Linked DNA regions of Homo sapiens: region 2 is linked to region 1. Evidence: promoter capture Hi-C in 16 types of primary human blood cells and fetal thymus (Javierre and others, 2016). All regions are on one chromosome and are shown on one strand. The core of a region is centred on a gene start or on the middle of the fragment in contact, and the rest is flanking DNA. Distances in the headings are between cores, read along the strand shown. Region 1 holds the start of CCDC32 (coiled-coil domain containing 32). Region 2 overlaps INO80 (INO80 complex ATPase subunit).

Evidence for each region. Contacts are between HindIII fragments. The CHiCAGO score rates a contact against its expected background, and 5 or more counts as called.
Region 2: a contact is called between a fragment that was not itself captured here and the fragment with the promoter of CCDC32 in region 1, in 1 of 17 cell types (M2 macrophages). The highest score is 5.2, in M2 macrophages.

What each region holds. Positions count from the first base shown.
Region 1 is chr15:40,561,116-40,567,543 of GRCh38, forward strand. It overlaps CCDC32 (coiled-coil domain containing 32), which reads right to left and starts at 3,927. Exons shown (of 4, transcript NM_001080792.4): 1 at 3,861-3,927; 2 at 1,657-1,912. The coding sequence starts at 1,900. RefSeq lists enhancers at 4,326-4,375, 4,855-5,149 and a silencer at 6,102-6,281. The HindIII fragment of the contact is 7,257 bases long and covers 1-4,357 here.
Region 2 is chr15:41,009,754-41,016,181 of GRCh38, forward strand. INO80 (INO80 complex ATPase subunit) reads right to left here. Exons shown (of 36, transcript NM_017553.3): 27 at 6,335-6,428. Among named protein-coding and RNA genes, the nearest start is that of INO80-AS1, 3.8 kb to the right of the region's middle. The HindIII fragment of the contact is 2,553 bases long and covers 1,732-4,284 here.

The DNA of each region.
Region 1 (6,428 bases), core at 2,677-5,176:
AAACAAAATGCCATACGTTCTCACTTATAAGTGGGAGCTAAGCTATGGGTACACAAAGGTATACAAAGTGGTATATTGGCCGGGCACGGTGGCTCACACCTGTAATCCCAGCACTCTGGGAGGCCGAGGTGGGTGGATCACGAAGTCAGGAGTTCGAGACCACTCTGACCAACATGGTGAAACTCTCTATCTACTGAAAATACAAAAATGAGCCAGGCGTGGTGGTGGGCGACTGTAATCCCAGCTACTCAGGAGGCTGAGGCAGCAGAATTGCTTGAACCCGTGAGGCGGAGGTTGCAGTGAGTCGAGATCGTGCCACTGCATTCCAGCCTGGGCAACAGAATGAGACTCCGTCTCAAAAAAAAAAAACAAAACAACAACCAAAAAAAAAACAAAACACAAAGTGGTATACTGGACTTTGGAGATTCAGAAGTGGGGAGGTTTGGAGAGGGGTGAGGGATAAAAAACTACACATTGGGTACAATGTCCACTACTTGGGTGATGGGTGCACTAAAATCTCAGACTTCACCACTATACAATTAATCCATGTAGCCAAAAACCGCTTGTACACCAAAAGCTATTGAAATAAAAAAATTAGGGCCAAGCGCGGTGGCACACGCCTGTAATCCCAGCACTTCAGGAGGCCAAGGTAAGCCTTATTCCCAGGTTTGGCTTTGTGAAACATGGATGAATCTCATGGTTGTTCCACAATAAAAGGATATTACAATTCTAAAGACTGCCCCTCACCGCCCTAGACTGATATTTCTTTTTCCCCTAGCATGGGACAATTTGAATCTCTTTCCTGTGTTTGGAATCTCTCTAGATACTTATACTATGGCCGCAGGACAGGGTACTGAAAATGTGTTCAGGAAATATTTTTAAAATAAAATGGCTAACAAGAGGCAGAATGAATCTTATGTCAATATGCTCCCATTCTCAACAATCAATCTATTTATGTAAGTTTTTCAAACTCCAGCATCAGAAATCCACATGTAGCCCTGGGGCCATCACATTTTCTTGCAGGATGGCATAAGGTTTAACACTTTTGAGTTATTTGAATATACGGGCAACCAACAGTAGGCAAGAGGGTTCTACAGAATGCCAAGAAATCAAACACAGAATTTAGATGAACTGGGCAGAGGCAGGAAGTGACAAAAACTGTTTTAAGAGCTGTTCGGGTAGTCACGGCGGCTCATGCCTGTAATCCCAGCACTTTGGGATGCCGAGGCAGGTGGATCACCTGAGGTCAGGCATTCGAGACCAGCCTAGCCAACATGGTGAAATGAAACCCCATCTCTACTAAAAATACAAAAAATTAGCCGGGCATTGTGCCAGGCGCCTGTAATCCCAGCTACTCGGTAGGCTGAGGCAGGAAAATCGCTTGAACCCGGGAGGTGGAGGTTGCCATGAGCTAAGATCACGCCACTGCACTCCAGCCTGGGCAACAAGAGTGAAAGTCTCAAAAAATTAAAAATAAAAATAAAAAAAGATCTGTTCAAGGAAAAGGGGGCTGCTTCCCAACAGCCGGCTTGAAACATCCCTTGGAATTATATCTGACAGATACGTGTGACAGGAATAACAACAACACAAAAGAATAGGAAACCAAGTTTGATGTAACAGAACTTCAATATGCTTCCCTAGAGCCGTCAAACTTACCTAGAGATGCTAAATACACTTCTGAATCCTGCAAGGGAGCCCAAGGCTTTACAGCTGGCTGGACAGCAAAGTCAGCCACCTCCCTCTGGCCTTCACCTTCAGGGCAAGAATCCACAAAGGAGTCTGAGAATGCATTGTTGGCACCATCTTCTTGTTCAGGATTTGGCAGACAGGAACAAATTTCAGCCCAGAGATCCTGGCCAGATCTTGTGGCTGTAGAGTCAGCGCTCTCAAACATTTTCATTTGGAATCTGAGCTATAAAACAGAAGCTCAAGTGAGTAAGAACTGGCTTTAAGAATACAGCATAAGGTTGAGCACAGTGGCTCACGACTGTAATCCCAACACTTTGGGAAGCCGAGGCAGTCAGATCATTTGAGGCCAGCAGTTCGAGACCAGCCTGGGAAACATGGCAAAATCCCATCTCTACTAAAAATACAAAAATTAGACAGGTGTGGTGGCACATGCCTGTAGTCCCAGCTACTCCGGAGGCTGAGGTAGGAGGATCACCTTAGCCCAGGAGATAGAGGCTGCAGTGAGTGGTGATCACGCCATTGCACTCCAGCCTGGGTGACATTGCGAGGCCCTGTCTCACAAATAAATAAATAAAATAAAAATAAAAATGGAATTCCTACAAGCCATACACAAAAGGCAGATACTGTGATTCCACTTATATAAGGTACCTGAGTAGTCAAATTCATAGATACAGAAAATAGGATGGTGGGAGCTGGGGGCTGGGAGGTAGAAAGAATGGGGAATTACTGTTTAATGGGTACACAGTTTCAGTTTGGGAAAATGAAAAAGTTCTGGAGGTGGATGGTAGTTATGGTTGCACAACAATGTGAACACCACTGAATCATACACACAAAAATAGTTAAAATGGTCAATTTTATGCTACATATATTTTAACACACACACACACACACACACACACACACAAATCTGTAGGGCATTTCCAGGTTGGACAACCAGCCTGCACTTTTCTCCAAAGATCTCCAAAATGCAACAGTTCTATCTCCAGTCAATTAAATTCTGTTTTTTTTTCTTTCTTTCTTTCTTTTTTTTTTTTGAGACAGAGTCTCGCTCTGTCGCCCAGGCTGGAGTGCAGTGGCGCTAACTTGGCTCACTGCAACCTCCGCCTCCCGGGTTCACGCCATTCTCCTGCCTCAGCCTCCCAAATAGCTGGGACTACAGGCACTCGCCACCACGCCCGGCTAATTTTTTGCATTTTTTAGTAAAGACGGGGTTTCACCGTTTAGCCAGGGTGGTCTCGATCTCCTGATCTTGTGATCCGCCCGCCTCGGCCTCCCAAAGTGCTGGGATTACAGGCGTGAGCCACCGCGCCCGGCCCCTAAATTCTGTTTTCAACAGAACACAGACTAAAGGTCTTTCCACAGTTCCATATACATGAAGATCCTGCTTGGTAAAAAGTGTCTGTCAGAGAGTACTGTTACAATGCAAGGGCTGTGTGCTCAGCGCATGCAGTTCAGCCGTATGTCTCATGCTCTTATTTTAATACAATCACTGAAAGGTAGGTATTTTCACCATTTTACAGATGAAAAAACAAGTTCAGAAGGGTAACTTGCTCTAGGGCACATTACTGATATGTGGGGAATCCTTGACAGGAAAACCAGATCTGTGCTGCTCCAGAATCCATGTTTTTATCAAATACCATCCTGCTTGTTTGGAAAATATAACGAAAGCAGCCCAAGCACGGGCAGGTAGGAAAAGCTACGCAAAGAGCCTGGAGGCTTTTATAACTATCTAGGCATATGAGACAGGCTGACACCTTCTTTCAAGAGGAGACTTAGAAATCAGGAAGGCTGCCTGAGGCAAGGTCTGAATAATGCCAGGAGACAGAGCCCAGCCAGCGTAAAGGCCGGAAGTAAAAGGGACAGCTATGACACGGCGGTCCTGGGTGAACTGATGTCTAGCGCTACAGTGAACCCCCAACCCGAATTCGTCTAAAGCCACCCAAAACCAAAACTTTGCTCACACCAGAGCCCCGCATGGCCCCTTACCCCAGGGCAGGGCGTCCAGAACCACGCAGGAAATTCCGGCGTCCAGATCCCAGGCCTCAGTCGCTCAGGTCTCTAGGGCTGTCTGGACGGGATGAATCAGGTCCCAAGGCCTCTATGTGGTATTCCGGGGCCGGGCCAGAGTGGGAGATCCAAAACGCTGGGCACCCCAGCCCCTCCTCACTTACCGTAACAGCTGCCCAGTAAACGCTTGGCTCAGCTCTGTCGCCTGTAGCCCGGAGGAAATCGGGAGGGGCGGAGTCCCCTAGTGACGGAGCCCAGGAGTCCTCCAACTACCTTCCCACCCGACGATGTTCTGTGCGTCGATTGGTCGAGAGGAGCTCAGCGTGGTGAAGAAGTGAGGAGCAGCAAGAGGCGAGCGGTGGACGGGGCTCTGGTTGCCGGGAAACGGTGGAGTCACGTGCCCTGAGCATTGCCCCTCCCCTCCCGAGGGCCAGGTTGATTCCTTGCAGATCCAGGGTTCCAGTCCCTGCTTGGATAGGGAAGTCGTTTCCAAGACTTTTGACTTTTCCTAGTCGCCGGAGCCAGTTCACCTCCTCCACAACTTTCTCTGTCGGTGTTTGTCTTCTAAAAATTTCACCCCTTCGTTACCCAAATTAGAGCACTTCGGCGGCTTCTTTCCTTACTCTCCCAGGAGACTCGTGTCTCATTCATCAAATTATGAAGCTTTCCTTCATTCATTTAGTCAATAGATACCAAGCACCTGCTGTGTTCTAAGCATTGTGTTAAGCGTGAAGTTAAGACACATATGACTTGATATAAGTCCTGGAGATCCTTACAGCTTAGTAGTGTAGGAAGGGGGTCCGCCATGGAGGCATAAAAGTTTACAAATAACAGTAAACAGTGATAGACAGCCGGGCGCGGTGACTCACGCCTGTAATCCCAGTACTCTAGGAGGCCGAGGCAGGTGGATCACCTGAGGTCAGGAGTTCGAGACCAGCCTGGGTGAAACATGGTGAAACTCTGTCTCTACTAAAAGTACAAAAATTAGCTGAGCATGGTGGCACATGCCTGGAATCCTAGCTATTCGGGAGGCTCAGGCAGGAGAATCGCTTGAACCGGGAAGGCAGAGGTTGCAGTGAGACAAGATCGCACCACTGCATTCCAACCTGGGCAACAGAGCAAGACTGTCTCAAAAAAAAAAAAGGAGGGGGGCGTTGAGGATTATAGAGTATATGATGGAAGTGTGGCCAGAGTACATAAAGGAGAGAGTGGTCATAAGAAGTGTGTGTCAGAATGCTTTGTTGTTGTAGTTGTTAAAGGAGATGACCTTTGATATCCTTCAGGGGATAGATACCAGCTTGTTCATTGAGATCGACCCCTCCCCATCCCCAGCTTCCAGGATCAACACCAGTTACTCTCTCCCAAGAAACACGTGATGAAAGACATCAGCCAACCATCAGTAGCCAAGTAACTTGGCTGAGGAAATAGTTCTCACTCCAGCCTGGGTGACAGAGCAAGACTCCGTCTCAAAAAAAAAAAGAAAGAAAGAAAAAGAAAACAACAACAACAAAAACAACATAGTTTTAGGATTACAGATGTGAGCCACTGCGCCCAGCTAAAATACAATTTAAAATTCAGTTCCTGGCCGGGCTTGGTGGCTCATGCCTGTAATCCCAGAATTTTGGGAGGCTGAGGGGGTGTGGATCACCTGAGATCAGCAGTTCGAGACCAGCCTGGCCAACATGGTGAAACCCTGTTTCTACTAAAAATACAAAAATTAACTGGGCGTGGAGGCGCATGCCTGTAATCCCAGCTACTCAGGAGGCTGAGGTAGGAGAACTACTTGAACCCAGGAGGCGGAGGTTGCGCCACCACATCCGGCCTGTAATCCTAACACTTTGGGAGGCCAAGGTGGATGGATTGTTTGAGCCCAGTTTGAGACCACCCTAGGCAATGTGGCAAAACCTCGTCTCTACTAAAAATACAAAAAATTAGCCAGTCATGGTGGCACATGTCTGTCGTCTCAGCTACTAGGGAGCCTGAGGTGGGAGGATCACTTCAGTTTGGGAAGTCAAGGCTGCAGTGAGCCAAAATCGTGCCACTGCACTCCAGCCTGGGTGATGGGAGTGAGATCTTGTTTCAAAACTTGTTAAAATTTTAATTAATTTAAATTTAATTAGCCACATGTGGCTATTGTACAGCACATGGCTAATGGTGATCCTATTGTATAGCACAGGATTGGAGAATATTACATAGTTCACAGAACCTCAAGGTGAGTGGAGAGTCAGGCTTTAGGTCTATACAGCCAGGGACAGTATCTGAATCTCACTGAGAGACTGCTCAGGGAACACCCCACAGCCACTGAACATCTATAGCTGGCATTATTCGTCGATTGGGTACTTGACACAAGAACCTCCCCGACTGTTGGCCTCCCAGATTAGATGCCTCCAATGCTACCTTGTTAGACACGGATTTCACACTGAGCCTGCTTCCGCGGCTGTGTGCCTCTGAACCAAAGCCTCTGTCTAAGAGATAGAGCCCAGGTCAAATGCCTATGTCCAAGCTGCAAGAGAGTGTGGGAAGGCTCTGGCTTCTACCTTTTGGGGGCAGTAATGAAATGTGAGAAATTCCCCACCCAAAAGAAGGGTGTTCGGAAGATGCTGGATGTTTACAGAATATGACAAATGTCTACTCTACATGGTCTATGCCAGTGCTTCTCAAGCTTTAATATGCAGAAAAATCACCTGAGGATCATGTTAAAGTGCAGATTCTCATTTAGTAGGTCAGAAGGG
Region 2 (6,428 bases), core at 1,758-4,257, 450 kb after region 1:
ATTTTTAAATTTAAATTTAAATTTTTATAGAGATGGGGGTCTTGCTATGTTGTCCAGGCTGGTCTTGAACTCCTGGGCTCAAGTGATTCTCCTCCCTTGGCCTTCCAAAGTGCTAGGATTACAGGTGTAAGCCACTGTGCCCGGCCAAACATACCTGTTTTAAAAGCATCGGAACACTTTCTTCAAGCAAATTCTTACACGGAACCCCTCTAATATATAAAATAGATAAAAGCATCGCTATCCTGACTGATAAAGAGTGGCCATCTCCGCTTAATATCTACTGGTCCTCTAACACATCCCATCAGTCTGAAAACCACTGTTTTACTATACAAGTTGAGAAGACAATGCTCTGCTTGCATGCCACTGATTAAAAAGTAGGACTTACAGATCACATCCACACACCACATCAGTGGCATGCAAACAGAGCTGCCAGCATAACTCAAGATAGTTTTACTGAGCATTCACTAACTGCCAGTCACTGTTCTATTTTACCTGGTTATGTTTATCCAATCATTATGGCAACCTTTAAGGTAGGTGCTATTAAATATTTTTTTAATTTCTCTTTTAATTTTTTTTCCCCCAGGATCAGAGATCACAATCAAAATCTTCATGATCTGTTCTGTAACAGCTTCCAATCACCTCCTTTTTAAATTTTTTTTTTTTAGATTTTTAATTTTCATGGGTATATAGTAAGGGTAGGTGTTATTATTGTCCCTCCTATCTTACAGATGTTAAGGTCCCTAAAGTGACACAGGCAGTAGGTGGCAGACCTAGGACTGAAACTCAAGCAGATTGGTTCCAGAGTCCATGGCTTAACCCTCCTACTGTTTCCCAGATGGAAGGGATGATCAGTACTACTAAGATGAAAATAGAAAGGGAGCCCCATTTAACCCTAAGGTTCTTAATATATCCTGTCCATAACCTGATCTATCATCATCATAAAGGATAATTGGACACTTGAAAAAATAAAGGCAAATGTTTATATATCCTATTACCAACCTTTCATTCTGAAACTTCTATTCCAAAGCTGGCTCTGACTTTCATTTTAACCAGATTTCATTTTGATAAAACAATTTAGGGGAAGGACTCAATATGGTCCACAAACCTGCAGATCTGATGTAATTTTATTTTCTTGGACATGCTGTTTTCCATCTTTTGGGGTATATCATTAGCAAAAGGCTACTCTATTACAATTTTTCTGCAGTCCAAGCAAATTGAACCAAGAGTTAAATATGACAGCCGTAATTCCCTTATCTAATACAGAGCCCTTTGGAGCAAGACTAGCAAAAGGCAATCATGGGCCCAAAATAATCTGACTTCAACCTACTCCTGTTATTTCCCTTTCTTCTATGCCATATGTTCCAGTCACAATGGACTACTCTTGTACCTTTCTATCTCTCTTTTTACATCTGGCTTCCTTAGTCTCAAATTCCTTTCTCCCTGATGGTTGAAATTCTATTTGTTCTTAAGTTCAGATGCCACTGTCTTTGTGATGCTTTCCTCAAGAGTGACTCAGTTAGAAATAAACATATCCTTCTTGCTATCCTCAGCTCTGTTCACGCTTCATTTTGACATTAGTATCAGGGTACACTGACAGGTATTTGTGTATGTATATGTCTCCTCCACTAAATAGATTCCTTAAAGTCAAACATCACGTCTAACTAATATTTGCATCTGCCTAGCATTAATGCCTTGCTCAAAGGTAGCATGGAGGAAAAAAGAATTTAAAAAAGCTTATACACAGCATGGTTGTAAGCTGACAAATTTCCTTCTACAATTCTTAAGACCTAATAAGAACTCTAGTTAACAGTGGCCCCAATTTTCTTTCTTTTTTTTTTTTTGAAAGGAAGTAAAGTACACTTGGAAGAAGGCCAAGAAGGCAACTTAAGATATCAAGTGTGCCAATCCAATTTGCTTTTCATTCCATGGGGCATTTTCAGAATACCCAGCTTCCCAGTATCTTCAGAATCACAGCTTCCAAAGGTAACCTGCATTTCTAAGAGAGGCCAACTCATAAATGACAGAATGTCTGCTCAGGATAAATCTTCCCCCAGTGAGGCACTGCGCTTGGATAGATGACTGAGCAAGTTACACAACCCAGGGTCTCAAATGTCATTATGTATGGATTACCTGGATTTAATTCTATATTACACTATTATCATATGTTGGTAGAGTTCAAGATTTGTCTGGATTTCAGTATTTAACAATTACACCACATATAGCATAAGCTGATTAACTCTTTCCAAGTACTCTTTATTGTATAGGAAGTATCAAGTGGCCTATTTCCTTAAACTACAAACTCAGTTGCTAGATGCAATAGGAATGAAACTCAAAAGAGAAGACTCAGAGATAAGTCATCTGTAATAAGTTAAAAGCTCTTTGCTACTAGAATACAGAGAAGAGTCCCTAACCATGGTAAAACTGGTGGTAGCAGGAAAAGTTCTGCCTGACATCCAGCTGGATACCACCATCCCAAATGCACAGGGATTATGTGTTCCCCTAGTATGCCCAACAGCCAAGATCCTATAGGTGGCCAGGCGTGGTGGCTCACGCCTGTAATCCCAACACTTTGGGAGGCCAAGATGGGAGGATTACTTGAGGTCAGGAGTTTGAGACCAGCCTGGCCAACATGGTGAAACCCCATCTCTACAAAAATACAAAAATTAGCCAGGCGTGGTGATGCGCGCCTGAAATCCCAGCTGCTCTGGAGGCTGAGGAAGAATTGCTTGAACCCGGCAGCTGGAGGTTGCAGTGAGCTGAGATCCCGCCATTGCACTCCAGCCTGGGTGACAGAGCGAGACTCTTTTTAAAAAAAAAAAAAAAAGATCCTATAGGCGATTCAGTAAATATAAAATAAACTCATAATGACATTTATTGATCTATGATTTCCTCACCTATTTATGTCCTTGGCTTCTGCCCGTGGCAAACTAAAAACTCCTGGCTTGGAAATTAAGCAGTCTCCTCTTCACTATTTTTGTTTTTCTTAGTGCCCATTTGTTACAGCAAAAGCACTCTCCTTTTAAAAATCCCCTATCTAGAAATACTACTATTTGGATGCCATGTGAAAGAATACAACATTTCTGAATATAGTCTATTTGGAAGAAGATCTGATATATACACAAGAAATTTAAAGTCAGATTTTTACCCAAGGGAAAAAGGAAGCGATCAATGACTTTAAAAAATACTGTGCAAATAGTAATGTCCAAAACTAGTATTTCTCACAGAATGGAAACCTGGCCATAGAGAAGTATGTGAATTCTTAATGTCTTCTAGTTCTGCCAAGTCCCAGAAACAGACAGCCAGCCATGGCTAAGGCACATAACAACAACAACAACAACAACAACAACAACCACCACAACAAAAACCCAAAAAGGCTGTTGGATGAAAGAGAGTTGCTCACATACTCCACAGCAACACAGAGCTTTGATACCCGCAATGTGAGTTTCTAACTCTTACTCTATTGGAAGCATTTCTTTCTCTCTTTGAAGAGGGTATACGATTTCAAGAGAAAAAGGAAAATCCTGAAATAAAAACAAAACAACCAACATTTTGAGACTTAAGTTTGTGTTTTTTCTTAAGATCAAGTATACTCAATGGACAGGATCTATTCAGAAGGTCCCACTGCAAGATCATGTACCAGGTCATGCTTTAATGCTGAAACATGGCTTTAATGAATGTTAATACTCAGAGTTTCTATTATGAAAGTGACTGAAAAACACTCTTTCAAAGATAAAAAAACGCAGACCTAGTGCTGCACCATCTCAAGTCGTACAATATGTTTATATTTCAATCAATGATTAAATATATGGTAAACACTTTGGGCATTGTAATTCCATGCTCATAAATTAAATTCTATTTCAGTACTAATCTCCTGGAATACAGAATGTGGTTCATTTGAGTGGGTAATATTAAAACAAATTAAAAATGAATAAACTTTAAGAAATTAAAGGAAGAACCATTAGTGTAGTATTAAGGAAACCAGAGAAGAATTTCATTTTAGTTTTTAAAACATACAAATAGTTGCAACATTTTCTGGTTTCAACATCCAAGATGCATGTTATACATATGGCTAAGCAATGTCAGCAGTTGTGAAATTCAGGCTTTGAATTTGCATTTCCCTAATTTGGAATTCCCCTTAGAAATACATCTATGTTTAGAGAGGTTCTCAAGCTGCTTGTTTGCAAAACCTACCCACTAGGTCCATAACCCAAAAATAACTGTTGGATTATAGATAGAGAGGAAGTGATCCTGGTGGGTAGAGTTTACAGCACTTATCCTGAACAAAGCTTATCATACTCTGAATTACTTATTTTAGTAATATTTAATGAGAACCTAGAAGTGTGCGATACACCGAGGGAAGGACTATAATAAAGGCTGTATCAAACTTAAACCACCTACACTCACCTTCACCTACCGAAGCTAGTTTATTTTTGGATTGCTCATTCACATTCCCTTGGAACTTTCCTTTCATATGAATCAACATGTAAGACTATAGTCTTGGAAAAGAAATACCATTATGTCCCTTACCAGTATCCTTAGCATACTGCTTTTTCTTTAATTGTTAGCAGCTGAAGATCACTACTTTAGCTATACTTTCCCTGCCTCTTGAGGACAAGGAAAGTGCACTTTACCTAAAAAGAGCCCCACTGCAGGAAAAGTTACTCATGTTGTTTTGGCTGTTGGGATCATCTGTTTGAACAGAACACTAGACATGCAGGCAGTCCTTTTATTTTGGATTACTACTGTTAGGATATTTAACATAGTTAATATATACATCAAACACAACAGCTTAATCACCTCTCTTATGGTGACTTACATTCACTCATAAGCACTTCCATCATTTAGGAATAAGTGGCCTACTCATAATACAAACCAGAGAGTTTAGTCTGTCAACAGCATTCAAGGGGCTATGAAACCTAAGACTTAGTGCTGAAACTGACCCCAAAAATCATTTATGTCTCTTGCTAAAAGAAGTTGCCGGATTATTAAAAGAAACCTCCCACTGATTTCAGATAAATTCATTGCAAAATTCAACAAGCCAATCTTGGCTTCCAAAAAGCCTGAAAACCCTCCTTAATGCTAGCCTTCATTCCTTCTGTACTGATATGGTCCCTATTGCTTTATTCCTAGATAAGGAAAATAACAGTACAATTTCCACTTACTTATTACGATTCCCTGGTGTAGCAGGGCGAGGGTATGAAGCCTTACACATGTAAAAACATGAGAACATTTATGTACTTCTGACAACCAGGTACTTCTGCCTCTCAAACTTTATTTATATAAAGACTTATTGTACTAGTTTGTGATTATCTGTTCTCATTTTCACTCTCCTGTTTCTAGGTCTGTGACCTCCTGTCCCTTAAAAAATAAGTCACCACTCAGACAAGAAAAAGAAAAACTTCAACAAAGAAGCAATTAAAGAAACAAAAGCTGCCTTGCACAGTCATATCTTTTCCACTAACTTAGTAGCTGTCAAGCCTGGTTGCATATTAGAATCACCCCAGGACCTTTTAAATATCCTGATGCCCAGGCCTCATTTCAAATGTAATAAATAAGAATCTCTGGAAATAGGACTAGAAATCCATATTTTTTTAAAGCTTCTCAGGTGATTGCGATATGTAGTCAAGTTGAGAATCACTATATTAACTCAGGTTGAATAGCTGTTCTCTGCTTTTTTACGCAGAGAACTAATCCTAAATCTTGTTTTCCATACATAATTTTAGATTCCTAGGCTGTGACCTACTTTAAAATTAAGAAATGTCTTCCCTAGTAAAAGGATGTAAGGGGTGTTCTATTTCACTGGTGTAGGGCAGGGGGCAGAAGTCCTTCACATACTCCCCATGCCAGGAGCTAACTCTGCTCCCTTTATAGATTGTAAAATCAAAAAAAGGAGTTTTGGGGGCTGCGTGTGGTGGCTCATGCCTGTAATCCCAACTCTTTGAGAGGCTGAGGTGGGTGGATCACTTGAGGCCAGGAGTTCAAGACCAGCCTGGCTAACATGGCGAAACCCCATCTCTACTTAAAAAAAAAAAAAAAAAAAAAAAAGAGCTGAGTGTGGTGGTGCACGCCTGTAATCCCAGCTACTCGGGAGACTGGAGCAGAAGAATTCCTTGAACCTGGAAGGCAGAGGTTGCAGAGCCGAGATCGCATCACTGCACTCCAGCCTGGGTGATAGAGTGAGACTCTGTCTCAAAAAAAAAAAAAAAGGAAAAAGAAAAAAGACAAAAGGGAGTTTTGGGGCTCCCATTAAGCAGGACTAACATTAGTCATGGACATCTGATTCCTACAAATTAAATGTCAAGGTATCCTAGGTCCCCAAGATTCCCTCTCCTACCTCCAGTAGGTCTATCATCCTGGTCATCTGGGAGTAGATAAGGACCCTATGCCCTTGAGACTTGAGCCGAGTCAGCAGGACATCAAGGGCATAC